2 separate regions of the Homo sapiens genome follow, and region 1 is linked to region 2. Evidence: promoter capture Hi-C in human tissues and cell types (Jung and others, 2019). All regions are on one chromosome and are shown on one strand. The core of a region is centred on a gene start or on the middle of the fragment in contact, and the rest is flanking DNA. Distances in the headings are between cores, read along the strand shown. Region 1 has its middle 37 kb from the start of CYP4A11. Region 2 holds the start of CYP4A11 (cytochrome P450 family 4 subfamily A member 11).

Region 1 (6,065 bases), core at 323-2,822, 38 kb before region 2:
TCTTGTAAATTTGTTTATGTTCTTTGTAGATTCTGGATATTAGCCCTTGTTAGATGGGTAGATTGCAAAAATTTTCTCCCATTCTGTAGGTGGCCTGTTCACTCTGATGGTAGTTTCTTTTGCTGTGCAGAAGCTCTTTAGTTTAATTAGATCCCATTTGTCAATTTTGGCTTCTGTTGCCATTGCTTTTGGTGTTTTAGTCATGAAGTCCTTACCCGTGCCTATGTTCTGAATGGTATTGCCTAGGTTTTCTTCTAAGGTTTTTATGGTTTTAGGTCTAATATTTAAGTCTTTAATCCATCTTGAATTAAATTTTGTATAAGGTGCAAGGAAGGGATCCAGTTTCAGCTTTCTACATATGGCTAGGCAGTTTTCCCAGCACCATTTATTTTTAAATAGGGAATCCTTTCCCCATTTCTTGCTTTTGTCAGGTTTGGCAAAGATCAGATGGTGTAGATGTGTGGTGTTATTTCTGAGGCCTCTGTTCTGTTCCATTGATCTATATCTCTGTTTTGGTACCAGTACCATGCTGTTTTGTTTACTGTAGCCTTGTAGTATAGTTTGAAGTCAGGTAGTATGATGTCTCCAGCTTTGTTCTTTTTGCTAAGTATTGTCTTGGCAATATGGGCTCTTTTTTGGTTCCATATGAACTTTAAAGTAGCTTTTTCTAATTCTGTGAAGAAAGTCATTGGTAGCTTGATGGGGATGGCATTGAATCTATAAATTACACCTTGGGCAGTATGGCCATTTTCACGATATTGATTTTTCCTATCCATGAGCATGGAATGCTCTTCCATTTGTTTGTGTCCTCTTTTATTTCATTGAGCAGTGGTTTGTAGTTCTCCTTGAAGAGGTCCTTCACATCCCTTGTAAGTTGGATTCCTAGGTATTTTATTCTCTTTGTAGCAATTGTGAATGGGAGTTCATTCATGATTTGCCTCTCTGTTTGTCTGTTATTGGTGTATAAGAATGCTTGTGATTTTTGCACATTGATTTTGTATCCTGAGACTTTGCTGAAGTTACTTATCAGCTTAAGGAAATTTTGGGCTGAGATGATGGTGTTTTCTAAATATAAAATCATGTCAACTGCAAACAGGGACAATTTGACTTCATCTTTTCCTAACTGAATACACTTTCTTTTTTTCTCTTGCCTGATGGTCCTGGCCAGAACTTCCAACACTATGTTGAATAGGGGTGGTGAGAGAGGGCACCCCTGTCTTGTGCCAGTTTTCAAAGGGAATGCTTCCAGTTTTGCCCATTCAGTATGATATTGGCTGTGGGTTTGTCATAAATAGCTCTTATTATTTTGAGATATGTTCCATCAATACCTAATTTATTGAGAGTTTTTAGCATGAAGAGTTCTTGAATTTTGTTGAAGGCCTTTTCTGCATCTATTGAGATAATCATGTGGTTTTTGTCATTGGTTCTGTTTATGTGATGGATTAAGTTTATTGATTTGCATATGTTCAACCAGCCTTGCATTCCAGGAATGAAGCCAACTTCATCTTGGTGGATAAGCTTTTTGATGTGCTGCTGGATTCGGTTTGCCAGTATATTATTGAGGATTTTCGCATCGATGTTCATCAGGGATGTTGGTCTAAAATTCTCTTTTTTTATTGTGTCTCTGCCAGGCTTTGGTATCAGGATGATGCTGGCCTCATAAAATCAGTTAGGGAGGATTCCCTCTTTTTTGTATTGATTGGAATAGTTTCAGAAGGAACAGTACCAGCTCCTCTTTGTACCTCTGGTAGAATTCGGCTGTGAATCTGTCTGGTTGTGGACTCTTTTTGGTTGGTAGGCCAGTAATTATTGCCTCAATTTCAGAACCTGTTATGGGTCTATTCAGTGATTCAACTTCTTTCTGGTTTAGTCGTGGGAGGGTGTATGTCTCCAGGAATTTATCCATGTCTTCTAGGTTTTGTAATTTATTTGCATAGAGATGTGTATAGTATTCTCTGACGGTAGTTTGTATTTCTGTGGGATCAGCGGTGATATCCCCTTTATCATTTTTTATTGCGTCTATTTGATTCTTCTCTCTTTTCTTCTTTATTAGTCTTGCTAGTGGTCTATCAATTTTGTTGATCTTTTCAAAAAACCAGCTCCTGGATTCCTTGATTTTTTGAAGGGGTTTTTGTGTCTCTATCTCCTTCAGTTCTGCTCTGATCTTAGTTATTTCTTGCCTTCTGCTAGCTTTTGAATGTGTTTGCTCTTGCTTCTCTAGTTCTTTTAATTGTGATGTTAGGAGATTGATTTTAGATCTTTCCTGGTTTCTCTTGTGGGCATTTAGTGCTATAAATTTCCCTCTACACCCTCCTTTAAATGTGTCCCAGAGATTCTGGTATGTTGTGTCTTTGTTCTCACTGGTTTCAAAGAACATCTTTATTTCTGCCTTCATTTCGTTATGTACCCAGTAGTCATTCAGGAACAGGTTGTTCAATTTCCATGTAGTTGTGCAGTTTTGAGTGAGTTTCTTAATCCTGAGCTCTAATTTGATTGCACTGTGGTCTGAGAGACAATTTGTGGTAATTTCTGTTCTTTTACATTTGCTAAGGGGTGCTTCACTTCCAACTATGTGGTCAATTTTGGAATAAATATGATGTGGTCCTGAGAAGAATGTATATTCTATTGATTTGGGGTGGAGAGTTCTGTAGATGTCTATTAGGTCTGCGTGGTGCAGAGCTGAGTTTAAGTCCTGGATATCCTTGTTAACCTTCTGTCTCATTGATACATCTAATATTGACAGTGGGGTGTTAAAGTCTCCCATTATTGTGTGGGAGTCTAAGTCTCTTTGTAGGTCTCTAAGGACTTGCTTTATGAATCTGGGTGCTCCTGTATTGGGTGCATATATGTTTAGAATAGTTAGCTCTTCTTGTTGAATTGATCCCTTTACCATTGTTGTAATGGTCTTCTTTGTATCTTTTGATCTTTGTTGGTTTGAAGTCTGTTTTTTCAGAGACTAGGATTGCAACCCCTGCCTTTTTTTTGCTTTCCATTTGCTTGGCAGAACTTCCTCCATCCCTTTATTTTGAGCCTTTGTGTGTTGCTGCACATGAGATGGGTCTCCTCAATACAGCACACTGATGGGTCTTGACTCTTTATCCAATTTGCCAGTCTGTGTCTTTTAATTGGAGCATTTAGCCCATTTACATTTAAGGTTAATATTGTTATGCATGAATTTGATCCTGTCATTATGATGTTAGCTGGTTATTTTGCTCATTAGTTGATGCAGTTTCTTCCTAGCATTGATGGTCTTTACAATCTGGCATGTTTTTGCAGTGGCTGGTACTGGTTGTTCCTTTCCATCTTTAGTGCTTCCTTCAGGAGCTCTTGTAAGGCAGTCCTGGTGGTGACAAAATCTCTCAGCATTTGCTTGTCTGTAAAGTATTTTATTTCTCCTTCTCTTATGAAGCTTAGTTTGGCTGGATATGAAATTCTGGGTTGAAAATTCTTTTTTTTAAGAATGTTGAATATTGACCCCCACTCTTTCCTGGCTTGTAGAGTTTGTGCCGAGAGATCAGCTGTTAGTCTGATGGGCTTCCCTTTATTGGTAACCCGACCGTTCTCTCTGGCTGTCTTAACATTTTTTCCCTCATTTCAACCTTGGTGAATCTGACAATTATGTGTCTTGGGGGTGCTCTTGTCGTGGAGTATCTTTTTGTTGGTCTCTGTATTTCCTGAATTTGGATGTTGGCCTACCTTGCTAGGTTGGGGAAGTTCTCCTACATAATATCCTGAAGAGTGTTTTCCAACTTGGCTCCATTCTCTCGGTCACTTTCGAGTACACCAATCTGATGTAGATTTGATCTTTTCACATAGTCCCATATTTCTTGGAGGCTTTGTTCATTTCTTTTTACTCCTTTTTCTCTAAACTTCTCTTCTTACTTCATTTCAATAATTTGATCTTCAATCACTGATACCCTTTCCTCCACTTGATCGAATTGTCTACTGAAGCTTGTGCATGTATCACATAGTTCTCGTGCCATGGTTTTCAGCTCCATTGGGTGATTTAAAGTCTGCTCTACACTGTTTATTCTAGTTAGCCATTCATCTAATCTCTTTTCAAGGCTTTTTGCTTCCTTGTGATGGGTTTGAACATCCTCCTTTAGCTCAGAGAAGTTTGTTATTACTGACCTTCTGAAACCTACTTCTGCCAACTCATCAAAGTCATTCTCTGTCCAGCTTTGTTCCATTACTAGTGAGGAGCTGTGATCCTTTGGAGGAGAAGAGGTGCCCTGGTTTTTAGAATTTTTAGCTTTCCTGCTCTGGTTTCTCCCCATCTTTGTGGTTTTATCTACCTTTGGCCTTTGATGATGGTGACCTACAGATGGGGTTTTGGTGTGGGTGTCCTTTTTGTTGATGTTGATGCAATTCTTTTCTGTCTGTCAGTTTTCCTTCTAACAGTCAGGTCCCTCAGCTGCTGGTCTGTTGGAGTTTGCTGGAGGTCCACTCCCAACACTGTTTGCCTGGGTATCACCAGCAGAGGCTGCAGAGCAGCAAATATTGCAGAACAGCAAATATTGCTGCCTGATCCTTCCTCTGAAAGCTTCATCTCAGAGGGGCACCCAGCTGTATGAGGTGTGTGTTGGCCCCTAGTGGGAGATGTCTCCCAGTTAGGCTACAGTGGGGTCAGGGACCCACTTGAGGAGGCAGTCTGTTCATTCTCAGAGCTCAAACACCATGCTGGGAGAACCATTGCTCTCTTCAGAGCTGTCAGACAGGGATGTTTAAGTCTGCAGAAGTTTCTGCTACCTTTTGTTCAGCGATGCCATGCCTACAGAGGTGGAGTCTACAGAGGCAGGCAGGCCTCATTGAGCTGCGGTGGGCTCCACCTAGTTCGAGATTCCCTGCTGCTTTGTTTACCTACTCAAGCCTCAGCAATGGTGGATGCCCCTCCCTCAGCCAGGCTGCCACCTAGCACTTCAATCTCGGACTGCTGTGCTAGCAGTGAGCAAGGCTCCATGGGCATGGGACCCACGGATCCAGGCGTGGGATATAATCTCCTGATATGCCTTTTGCTAAGATCTTTGGAAAAGTGCAGTATTTAGGTGGCAGTGTCCCAATTTTCCTGGTACAGCCTGTCACGGCTTCCCTTGGCTAGGAAAAGGAAATCCCCAGACCCCTTGCACTTCCCAGGTGAGGTGATGCCCCACCCTTCTTTGGCTTGCCCTCCATGGGCTGCATCCACTGTCCAACCAGTCCCAATGAGATGAACCAGGTACCTCAGCTGGAAATGCAGAAATCACCCATCTTCTGCATCGATCACACGAGAAGCTGCAGACCAGAGCTGTTACTATTTAGCCATCTTGGAATGGATCCCACAATTGGAATTATCAACAGCAGAATAGACCAAGCTGAGGAAAGAATCTCAGAGCTCAAAGACCAGTTCTTAGAATTAACTCAAATAAAAATAAAGAAAAAAAATTTTTTTGATGAACAAAATTAGAGAGATATAGGATTATGTAAAGAGCCCAAGTCCATGACTCACCAACATGCATGAAAGACAGGGAGAGAGAACAGCAACTTGGAAAACTTATTTGAGAATATTGTTCACAAAAATTTCCCAAGCCTCACTAGAGAGGTTGCCATGCAAATACAAGAAATTCAGAGAATCCCTGCAAGATACTATATAAGATGGCCATCCCCAAGACACATAAGTCATCAGGTTGTCCACGGTCAACACAAAAGAAAACATATGAAATGCAGCTAGAAAGAAGGGGCAGGTCATCCTCCAAGGGAACCTAATCAGGCTAAGAGTAGACATTTCAGGAGAAAATCTACAAACCAGAGGAGATTGGGGTGTATATTTAGCACCCTTAAAGAAAAGAAATCCCAACCAAGAATTTCATATCCAGCCAAACTAAGCTTCATAAGCAAAAGAGAAATAAAATCCTTCTCAGGAAAGTAAGCACTTAGGGAATTCATTACCACCAGAACTGCCTTACAAAAGGTCCCAGGGGGGTGCTAAACATGGAAATGAAAGACCATTGCCAGCCACTACAGAAACACACTTCAATACATAGACCACAACACTATAAAATACATAACAAGTGTACATAACAACCAGC
Region 2 (5,984 bases), core at 2,485-4,984:
TCTCCTAATGCTATCCCTCCCCTAACCCCCCATGCCAGATAGGTCCCTGTGTGTGATGTTCCCCTCCCTGTGTCCATGTGTTCTCATTGTTCCACTCCCACTTATGAGTGAGAACAAGTGGTGTTTGGTTTTCTGTTCTTGTGTTAGTTTGCTGAGAATGATGGTTTCCAGCTTCATCCATGTCCCTGCAAAGGACATGACCTCATCCTCTTTTATGGCTGTATAGTGTTCCATGGTGTATACGTGCCACAGTTTCTTTATCTAATCTATCATTGATGGGCATTTGGGTTGGCTCCAAGTCTTCTATTGTGAACAGTGCTGCAATGAACATACATGTGCATGTGTCTTTATAGTAGAATGATTTATAATCCTTTGGGTATATACCCAGTAATGGGATTGCTGGGTCAAATGGTATTTCTGGTTCTAGACCTTCGAGGAATTGCCACACTGCCTTCCACAATGGTTGAATTAATTTGCACTCCCACCAACAGTGTAAAAGCATTCCTATTTCTCCACATCCTCTCCAGCATCTGTGGTTTCCTGACTTTTTAATGATTGCCATTCTAACTGGCATGAGATGGTATCTCATTGCGGTTTTGGTTTGCATTTCTCTAATGACCAGTGATGATGAGCTTTTTTTGCTGTTTTTTTGGCTGCATAAATGTCTTCTTTTGAGAAGTGTCTGTGCATATCCTTTGCCCACTTTTTGATGGGGTTGTTTTTTTCTTGTGAATTTGTTTAGGTTCTTTGTAGATTCTCGATATTAGCCCTTTGTCAGATGGATAGATCGCAAAAATTTTCTCCCATTCTGTAGGTTGCCTTTTCACTCTGATGATAGTTTCTTTTGCTCTGCAGAAACTCTTTAGCTTAATCAGATTCCATTTGTCAACTTTGGCTTTTGTTGCCATTGCTTTTGACGTTTTGGACATGAAGTCCTTGCCCCTGCCTATGTCCTGAATGGTATTGCCTAGGTTTTCTTCCAGGCTTTTTATGGTTTTACATCTTAAGTTTAAGTTTTTAATCCATCTTGAAATAATTTTTGTGTAAGGTTTAAGGAAGGGTCCAGTTTCAGTTTTCTGCATATGGCTAGCCAGTTTTCCCAACACCATATATTAAATAGGGAACCCTTTCCCCATTGCTTGTTTTTGTCAGGTTTATCAAAGATCAGATAATTGTAGATAAGTGGTGTTATTTCTGAGGCCTCTGTTCTGTTCCATTGGTCTGTATATCTGTTTTGGTACCAGCACCATGCTGTTTTGGGTACTGTAGCCTTGTAGTGTAGTTTGAAGTCAGGTAGCATGATGCCTCCAGCTTTGTTCTTTCTGCTTAGGATTGCCTTGGCAATGGGGGCTCTTTTTTTATTCCATATGAAATTTAAAGTAGTTTTTTCTAATTCTGTGAAGAAAGTCAATGGTAGCTTGATGGGAATAGCATTGAATCTATAAATTACTTTGGGCAGTACGGCCATTTTTACTATATTGTTTCTTCCTATCCATGAGCATGGAATTTTTTTCCATTTCTTTGTGTCCTCTTTCATTTTGTTGAGCAGTGGCTTGTAGTTCTCCTTGTAGAGGTCCTTCACATCCCTTGTAAGCAGTATTCCTAGGTATTTTATTTTCTTTGTAGCAATTGTGAATGGGAGTTCACTCATGATTTGGCTTTCTGTTTCTCTATTATTGGTGTGTAGGAATGCTTGTGATTTTTGCACATTGATTTTGTATCCTGAGACTTTGCTGAAGTTGCTTATCAGCTTAGGGAGATTTTGGACTGAGATGATGGGGTTTTCTAAATATACAGTCATGTCATCTGCAAACAGAGACAATTTGACTTCCTCTCTTCCTATTTGAATACCCTTTACTTCTTTCTCTTACCTGGCCAGAACTTCCAATACAAGCGAAAAACAAACAACCCCATTAAAGACACAGACACTTCTCTAAAGAAGACATATGAGCAGCCAAAAAATATTTTTAAAAATGCTCAACATCACTAATGAGAAATGTGAATCAAAACCACATCTCACACAAGTCAGAATGGCTATTATTAAAAAGTTTCAAAGCAACATATGCTGGCTAAGCTGCAGAAAAAAAACATAATGTGTATACATTGTTTGTGGAAATGTAAATTAGTTCCGCCACTGTGGAAAGCAGTTTGGAGATTTCTCAAAGAACTTAAAATAGAACTACTATTTGACCCAGCAATCCCAATATTAGCTATATATCAAAAAGAAAATAAGTTGCTCTACCAAAAAGACACCTCTACTCATACATTCATCACAGCACTATTCGCAATAGCAAAGACATGGCATCAACCTTGGTGCCCATCAATGGTGGACTGGATAAAGAAAATGTGATACATATACACAGTGGAATACTAGACAGCTATAAAAAAATAAAGAAATCATGTTCTTTGCAGCAACATGGATGAATTGGGAGGCAATAATCCTAAGCAAATTAACACAGCAACAGAAAACCAAATACCGCATGTTCTCACTTATAAGTGGGAACTACATTTTGGATACTTATGGACATAAATATGGGAACAATAGACACTGGGGACTACTAAAGGGGTAGGTACAGATATGAGTAAGCATTGGAAATTTGACTAATATATACCATACTCACTACCTGAGTGGCAGAATCATTTGTATCCAAACCCTCAGCATCACACAATACACCAGTGTAAAAAACCTGCATACGTACCTGAATCTAAAATAAAAGTTGAAATTATAAAAAGAGGAAAAAAAGAATGCTCATGCACAGATATGCATGTAAAAATGCCAGGGAGGGTTAATTCATAGCAACAGTTGCTATTTAACCTACTTTACTTGAGGTTGGCAAAGCAATCATTTTTTAAATATTAATTTCTGTTTAGTACAGATTGTCCTTGGTCAGGACTCCTAAACAGAGTGCAAAGTTCTGATTGTGTAATTACATACTATTGTAGGGTGAAAGAGAATTGGTAAACAGGCTCCTGCTGTGACTATAGTACTAGACTGAAGTAGGACTAAAATTGCTCTAGGACTTACTCTGGTAGAAAAGGTAGACCTATCAATAGGGGAAAAAGTCATACCTAACATGATGTAGAATTTTTTTAAATTGTCATGTATATGAATTGAGAAAAAAAATCATGCTATGCATATTATGAGACCAGTTTCCCCAATGGAATAAAATAAAGTACTTGAACAGCTGCTATATTAGCATCTGTTTGTCCATATCATCATCCAGTTACTAGAAAGACATAATTCCCACTCTTCACTCAATATATAGATGGAAGTGGTTTTTATGGTAAATAAAATTAGATTTGCAATAAGACAAAAGTAATGATTCAGGGCTTGGTTAATGTTAAGTTTAAATGTACATATCATGTTGAGAATTTTCTTTGAACACATAACAAAAAAAAAGTGCTACTGAATGAACATTATTGCAATGTAGTAAAGCAGAATGCAAATTCCTTGAGGTCAGCATTCAAGTCTGTTTTCCTCGCAGCGGTGCCCACACACCTAGCATACTGCCTGGCACACAGTAAATGCTCATTAAATATTTGTGAGGTACATGGACAGGGGAATGTGGTAGACAGCTGATGAAGCTTTTCTCCCACTGTTGCCCTAGGTGGATCATCCATAGTCAATTGATTCTGAACTCTGAGGTCCAAGTTCTGCCCTCCTCCTTCACTCTCCCCACAAGTGGGCGGGACAATCCTCCCTGGATTTGAGCACAGGGGGACGGGGGTGGTCAGAGAGAGGTAGGGGCACTCAGAGATCCAGCAGGTGCTGCACCATGAGTGTCTCTGTGCTGAGCCCCAGCAGACTCCTGGGTGATGTCTCTGGAATCCTCCAAGCGGCCTCCCTGCTCATTCTGCTTCTGCTGCTGATCAAGGCAGTTCAGCTCTACCTGCACAGGCAGTGGCTGCTCAAAGCCCTCCAGCAGTTCCCGTGCCCTCCCTCCCACTGGCTCTTCGGGCACATCCAGGAGGTAGGGAGGAACTCAATGGGGGAGTGGGAGGGCAAAGAGGGATGGGGCTCTGAGACCCTGGTCACAAAATCCATAGAGCAAAGCCTTGTTTTGTAACAAATGTGAGGACTCAAAGGAACACCCAGCCTACCTCTCTGGTCTCAGCTTTTCCCAGTCATGAGGAGCTCACTTCTCCCATGAAGCCCATCCTGCTGGTCCTCAGCTCTATCACCCGTGCCCTCCTTCTGCAGATATCAAGTGTGTCTTGGCAGTCCTGCATGTGGAGGGCAATGCCTGATTGTCTCCAGACTGATTACCCCATAAGCCTTGGCTTTCATCAAAGAACAAGGCTTCTAGATGCTCTCTGCCCAGTCACTCAATGCCATCACTCTGCCTGGCCCTGTGTTTGCCAGGGAGCACAGACACCCATCTGAGGAATCCATGCCATGAGGAGTTTATGGTCTGTGAAGAATACAGGCAGGAATTTGAGAAGGTGTCAGACTGCAGGAAAGGAGCTCACTCTGCTGGGGTGGATATCTGAGGCAGAGATCTGCTGGTATAGGGGACCAACTGGCTAAGTAAGTTTCCCCAAGACTCACGGAATTTCCACAACAGGTGATTTAGGATCTGAAAACCTGACAATTATGGGTACACATGAGGGGGGCAGCCTGCACAATGTTCTCCAGGTGAGGAGACTGGTGTTTGAGTTGCACATTGAACAGGGTGTGTTGACCTCCTGGCTCTCCTCCCACACACCCGGACTGTGAGCTCCCTGGCGGTGAGCATGTCATCCCCTTCCTGTGCCCCGGCAATCAGCAAAATCCTGGCACAGCTTGATGATCAGCTCAGGTGTGTAGAGCAAGCTTGTCCAACCCACGCCCCATGGGGCTGCATGTAGCTCAGGATGGCTTTGAATGTGGCCCAACACAAATTCGTAAACTTTCTTAAAACGTTATGAGATTATTTTGCAATTTTTTTGAGTTCATCAGCTATCATTAGTGTTAGTGTATTTTATGCATGGCTCAAGACAATTATTTTTCTTCCAATGTGGCCTAGGAAAGCCAAAAGATTGGACACACCAGGTGTAGAGGAACAGAGGAAGAAGAGAAAGGAGCAGCAAGAGGGCTGAGGAGGGACACAGCCCATCCCCTGTGCACTGCTATCCCTACAAGGGGAGGGGGGCGGGTAGGAACAGAGCAGGTAAACGGCTGCATGGAGAGGGACTCACCAAGGTGCTATGAATTGAACACACTTAAGTAGAGATAGGGGTTGCAGGGAACTGAGGCCTATTGTTTCTCAGCAAAGGAGGCAACATAGTTCTCAGCAGAGCAGAACAAATGTGGGGACCTGCCAAAGTTCTAACCCTATATGGACTGGTCCCAATACCACTCTGCCTTCTTTCCCATTCTCCTCTTTTACCATATGTTACTCACTACCTCACTACCTGCCTCTGCATTTCAACCTTTAGGTCTCTGATCACACTATGCTTGCTACCTGGAATTATCTTCTCACGCATATCTATCTGTCAAGGCCCAGCACCAAGCTACCTCCTTCAAGAAGGCCTCCTGGGTCTCCCAGTAGTGAAGGGCTGACTCTTTTTTCCATGAGCTATCCTTCTCAAGAGGCCAGAGCAGTGTTAACTTGACTCAGTTATTGTTCTGCAGTGTCATAAGTGTGGGATTCTTCTGGGAGAGACCATCTCTGATTTATGTTTGTAACCCAATAGTCCCTCAGTAAATGATGACTCAGTGAGTGAGGAAGAGCTTTCTAATGTTCAGTTCTGAGTTAGGTCCCTCTTCAAAGCTTCCCCAGATGCTTGTCCTTCATTCCATATCATGTCCATTATCCCCTACTGCACAGCCTCTAATCTTTCTTACCCCCCAACTAGACTGAAAATTCCACACAGATAAGGACCACAGCTGTATCCTAACGCAGTGCCTGAGCCACACTGGGCACATAGTATGTGTGCAGTAAGCATGGGCTGAATGAAGGAGCCTACCCCACAGTAGGGCAAGCTGCCTCAGAGCTGGACAA

What was found. The method cuts DNA at HindIII sites, captures the fragments that hold promoters and counts their contacts. A contact is called where the count stands out against the background at its distance.
Region 1: a fragment that was not itself captured here is called in contact with the fragment with the promoter of CYP4A11 in region 2 in 4 of the 25 tissues and cell types used here (aorta, liver, ovary and 1 more).

What each region holds. Positions count from the first base shown.
Region 1 is chr1:46,975,222-46,981,286 of GRCh38, reverse strand. It overlaps a transcript of CYP4X1 not described here. Among named protein-coding and RNA genes, the nearest start is that of CYP4A11, 37 kb to the right of the region's middle. The HindIII fragment of the contact is 5,350 bases long and covers 1-4,247 here.
Region 2 is chr1:46,939,226-46,945,209 of GRCh38, reverse strand. It overlaps CYP4A11 (cytochrome P450 family 4 subfamily A member 11), which reads left to right and starts at 3,734. Exons shown (of 12, transcript NM_000778.4): 1 at 3,734-3,971. The coding sequence starts at 3,777. The HindIII fragment of the contact is 9,397 bases long and covers 1-5,283 here.